Regions from separate parts of the Homo sapiens genome. Here region 1 is linked to region 2. Evidence: promoter capture Hi-C in 16 types of primary human blood cells and fetal thymus (Javierre and others, 2016). All regions are on one chromosome and are shown on one strand. Each heading gives the region's core, a stretch centred on a gene start or on the middle of the fragment in contact. The rest is flanking DNA. Distances are from core to core; before and after follow the strand shown.

Region 1 (2,700 bases), core at 126-2,625, 91 kb after region 2:
TACATCTCCGTTCTTAGGTGGAATAGTCAACTCCATGTACCCATGAGGAATGTACTGCTGACTGTAATCAAAGCGAGGTTTCTTCATCAGGTGAGATCTGACAGTTGAATAGGCTCCATCACATCCTACAATGAGGTCACAAGTGACATCTTTGGGAACTTTGTCAGATCTGAAAAATAGAACAAAACATCCAAAAGAAAAATATGTCTAGTGGTGAAAATGATGATGTACCTCTGGGTATGAGAAGTAGTGGCTCCATAGATAACTTAGAAAGCTCACTTTCACATGTTTGACTTGGAGCTTTGAGTTAATAGATGTAACATTTAGATGAAAACACTTGTCCCAGTCATAAGTTTGCTTATGAGAATAGCACAACACCATATTGATTAATAAAGACTTGGTAGGCCACAGAAGTGTGACAGGATTTGAGATTTCTGCATGAAGGAGGAGAATCTTGAAAACAGGGCAAGTGTTCCAAGTGTACGAATGAATGTATGAACAACCACAGGATTTTCTAAGAACAATACATTTGTCTTGAGCACAGGTATTAGAAGAAAAGCTTAAGAAAAGAATACAAGGTAGGGAGAGAAAGGAAGGGGAAAAGAAGAGAATCTTGAATGTCAAGATAAAAGATTTTAAAACATTATTCTGGCAAAAGGGAAACTGAAATTATCTATTAGGGGAATGATGTATGAAGAGTTGCAATTTAAGAAAACTTCCTTGGCAGTTTGAAGAGAAGGCCGAATGCCAAAGGGAGCAGAAAACAGGGATGAGGTGATGGCAACACATTATATTACATGTGCAGGAATGAGAGCCGGAAGTACTGTCCTGCAGCTAGAAGGAGGAAGACAGACTCTGAAGCCAGTAGAAAGTAGGATAGACTGGGGAGTGTTATAGATTTAATGGGAGAGGACAGGGGAAAGAACACATCATGAATGATTCAAATTATTCAGGCATTAGTTCTGGGGAAGTCAGGAATGGGATGTGATTTGGGAGAAGTAGGTGATCAAGGTTTTAGATATGTTTGAGATAATGGCAAGATGTTCCAGCAAGGATGTTTGATGAGAAGTTAACATAAATTGATTTGAGCTTCTATAAGGATTTAGAATGAAGAAAGAGGCTTGGACTGGAAATGTTCATCTTAGAGATGTGGTTGTTGAACCCATGAGCGTGGATCCATAGCATATCGCAAGAGTGGGATATGAGGCTTGGAACCTTAGAGGAAATAGAATCATCCAAGGAAAGGCAGAGAAATAGCACCTGGAAAGAGAACAGGAGGAGAGCAGTGGAGGGTCACGTATATTTGAGAGAGGAGAGAGTTTGAAGCACATTAGAGTCACCAGTGTGGAATACAGTACAGTAGGAAGGTGAGCAAGTGTGAGAATTAAGAATTATTGGCATTGGTGTTCAGATGGCCATCAGGGCCTATTTGCAATCTAAAATTCCTTGAATCTAGAAACTATTTGGATGATCCTTTCAATAATCTTTTAACTCTTTCAAAAGAGCCAAAGAACAAAGTTTGCAGATACAATTCTCCACTCCCAGCTTTCACCTCTGAAGTCCAAAACCTGACCCGTAGTTACCCAAGCACTGTGATCATTCCTTCCTCTGGATTACATTTCAACAGCCTGTGGTTAAAGTGCATTTTCACATTGGGGTATTTCTCAGCAGCTGAGGAAATGGAGAAAGAGGCAAACAGAAATGAAATCTCAATTCTTACTTCACTTAATCAAATTGAAATAGTAATTGTTTTCTGGGAACAGTATGGTAGAGAATTTTATTCATAACAATGTAAAAATAAGTTCACTTAAATGGTAATTTGACAACTGTTTGGTAACTATTTCAGTATAATTTGGTAGTAAAACAGATGAATAAAAATCAATTATCCTCATCTCAAAAAGAAAACATCCAACTGATTCCATTGTGCAAACTCTTGCATTGCTGTAATTATTAGCACCCTGGGAAAGAAGCAAGCATCACATATTTCAGAAGTCGCCTCTAATCCGAGGCTTTGTTGTGACTGGAAATATTCAGTCAAACTCCTTTCCTCATATTACGCATGTCTCTATATCTCTTTTTAGCTAGTTTTCTGGAATTCTGATTGAAGTTGTCACAAATAGAGATTGTTGATTTTAAATCTCTTTGAAATCAAACACTGGAATAGTTAGGGGGAAAATGAGTAAGAAGCTTTGAAACCTCTCAATAAACTGAAACAAATTATTTTCGTAATTTTCTGTTTTGCCTGCTAGCACTCTAGAGAATTGAGTGAATTTCAATTTATGAACTATTAATTATGCCCTTGTTACAACAGTAAAATGTGATTTTGTCCCTATTAATGCTCATGTATTCATCTATAAATATAGCCTATTTATTGTTCTTAAAGGTATAAATCAGAATACAGGTGTTAGAGCTGGAATAGACTTCAGAGATGATTTAGTTCAAAATCCTTCATCTTAAAAAAGGAGTAACTAAGATTCTGGAAGTAAAGGTAAAATGCCTGAGATCACACAAAGTGAAAAAATTAAGGACCAAACTCATCAAGTTGTACACATTAATTATGTACAGTTTTTATATGTCAAAAACGTAAATAAAAAGAATGTTGAATTTGAAAAAAATGGGGAAAATAAGGCAGGAGTTCTATTCCTGCCTGTACTTATCTCCTCTCTTCATCTCAATCTTGTCTTATTTTACTCTTTTTTG
Region 2 (2,775 bases), core at 168-2,667:
GTGGTGGGTGCCTGTAATCCCAGCTACTTGGGAGGCTGAGGCAGGAGAATCACTTGAACCTGGGAGGCAGAGGTTGCAGAGAGCCGAGATCGCACCATTTCACTCCAGCCTGGGCAATAGGAATGAAACTCCGTCTCAGAAAAAAAAAAAAAAAGAAAAGAAAAGAAAAGAATTTGGGTAACTTGGGCAAATGATTTATCTTCAGCTCCCATTTTTTCCACAAATAAAATGAACATAATGACATTGATTAACATGACTATAAATTATTAAATACTATTCAATTAATACCAGCTTGGGTTTGAACACCCAAAGTCAAGATTTTCACTTACAAATTACTATGCAGCCTGGCACACTCAGAGGCTGGCTATACTATCCCTTTAGCAATTATATGGGCTCTGCTCCTTTCATTGCAACAGCAGGGTTTGTTCTGTTAGTCTTTCACTCTGCCATGTAGCTTTATTTTTCACAGCTGTCCTCAATACGCCAAAGCTGTACACTACACCACTCCCCTTGAATCTTGTCTATGCACTGGCATCTCTGCTGCAAATCCTCCTGTAAGACCACTGTCCACCATATTCTCCTTAGCTTGCATCCTCAAGATCATTCCTGCCTAGAGATATGGAGAGTGGCCAAGACAATGGAATCATGGTGAGGCAGGAAGCTGCACTTCTTATGAAAGTCTTTATGGTCTCATGATATCTTTAGGCTAAGAAAAAGCAGTGCTATACATTACTGAGCATCCCAGGTCAACCAGTGAGCCATCAAATGGCAGCGTCTACAGAAGAACACTGGACGTCATTTAATCCAATCCCATAGTTTTACAATTGAAGCAACTTCGGTTCAGAGAAGTAAAAAAAAAAAACAAAAACAAAAACAAAACAAAACAAAAGCTTCCTCATGTCCGCTTTGTTATTTAGGGACAGAGAAAGAACAAGAACTGAGGTCTTCATCCCCTTTCAGCACCCATTCTTTCACATTAAGCTCTGATGCTTCTCTCTGATGGCTTAAAACATTTTCCAGTTCTAACCAACAGACCCAATTGGACTATCGTGTAATCACTGATCTTACCTTCTTTATGGATAAATAAGCCTGCTCTTTCATCTCTTTTCTGGGCTGCTGTTTGTTCAACCAATTTTTCAAACCTGTTCAAAGCCTTTTTGAAATTGCTCATCTGAAGTGCCATGTTGAGACGCTTTTCCTTCCTGATATCCATAGGGACATAGGGGATCTTTTACTTCTGTACAGAAAGAATACTGCAAGTTTACCAATTTGGAAAACTTTCCAGTTGTTACAGTGCCTCCCTGCTGTCTCAGTTTTTGCCCTAGGTCTAATTCCTTTGATCTTAAAATCCCATAGTGCGGGTAGGAGTAAGAGTTGCCACTAGGATGTTAGCAGGGAGGAAAGCTGATTTAGGTCTGATGCATTTCATACAGACAAACATTTCAGTAAAAATCCTGACCTCACAATGTCATCAGTGTCCTTCATAGGGTCCTCATTGCATCATAATATCTCTGTAACATCCTACTTCCTTCATAAGGAGGAGATTGAGATATTTTTTTCCCCACAGACTGTGTGTGTGTGTGCGCGTGCACATGTGTGTGTTGTGTATACTGCTTGAGAGGGAAAAGGAATGAGTAAATAACAAGTAAGAAAACTGGGTAATACTTTCTCCCTCGTGTATCTCTTCTCACCTCAAACCTTTTGCCTTCCTCACAATACCGCGGAAAGTAAAGTTTGGCCAGGCACGGCGGCTCATTCTTGTAATCCCAGCACTTTGGGAGGCCGAGGTGGGTGGACCACCTGAGGTCAGGAGTTCAAGACCAGCCTGGCCAACATGGTGAAACCCCCGTCTCTACTAAAAATACAAAAATTAGCTGGATGTGGTGGCGGGCACCTGTGATCTCAGCTACTCAGGAGGCTGAGGCAAGAGAATCACTTGAACCTGGGAGTCAGAGGTTACAGTGAGTTGAGATCACACCACTGCACTCCAACCTGGGTGACAGAGTGAGACTTCCTCTCAAAAAAAAAAAAAAGTAATATTCACACTTATTCTTGCCACTGTACTGGATATGGAAATTCGAACTTCTAAAGATGAAATGTATTTCAGCACCTGTCATTTCTACCACAAACATTTTTAGAGGTCATAGGGAATACAAATGCTCTTCTTCCTTTGTGCATTGTCCTTCGATTGAAATAATAAAGTGAGCCAAGGATAAGGAAGGAGTGGCTTCTGATTATGAGGACAGCTTTTCAAGGTAAGAGGTCAGATGAATTAGAAGAGGCCTTTCTGCACATCTCCTTCCCAGTCATTGCAATCTCCAATCCGACTTAGTCCAAATGCTATTGACTCCGGTTTTCCAATTTTCAACTTTTTATGGGAAGGAGAAGTTGTTTAATGTTTCTCAACAATTAGTTAACTTCCTATGGCTTAGGTGAGTTAGATAAATTTCCTACCCCTTGGTAGTCCATCTTTTAAAACATTCTTCAAGAACTTGCATTCAGAGATGAAGCAGATGGCATTTCAGAGCACCTCCAATTCCAGTACTGTCTTCTTGGTGTCCACCTCTAACTATCTGTTAGGAGAGCGCAGTAAGATTTTATTTAAAGAAAAATCCCCCAACCCCATTTGTTTCTCCTCCTTTTTCCTTTAAAGCTTTCAAACCACTGTACAGTGATGTCTGGAGAACCACTCTTCCTACAATTCTAATGCATTCACCATTAATTCATCTAGGAAATATTTACTGAATACACACTTCATGCTAGAGGCTGTTTTAG

Evidence for each region. Contacts are between HindIII fragments. The CHiCAGO score rates a contact against its expected background, and 5 or more counts as called.
Region 1: a contact is called between a fragment that was not itself captured here and the fragment with the promoter of WDR64 in region 2, in 3 of 17 cell types (non-activated CD4 T cells, monocytes and activated CD4 T cells). The highest score is 6.8, in non-activated CD4 T cells.

Annotation. Positions count from the first base shown.
Region 1 is chr1:241,559,636-241,562,335 of GRCh38, reverse strand. KMO (kynurenine 3-monooxygenase) reads right to left here. Exons shown (of 15, transcript NM_003679.5): 6 at 1,584-1,671; 7 at 4-169. Among named protein-coding and RNA genes, the nearest start is that of KMO, 29 kb to the right of the region's middle. The HindIII fragment of the contact is 1,628 bases long and covers 562-2,189 here.
Region 2 is chr1:241,650,923-241,653,697 of GRCh38, reverse strand. It overlaps WDR64 (WD repeat domain 64), which reads right to left and starts at 1,417. Exons shown (of 28, transcript NM_001367482.1): 1 at 1,069-1,417. The coding sequence starts at 1,213. The HindIII fragment of the contact is 1,763 bases long and covers 893-2,655 here.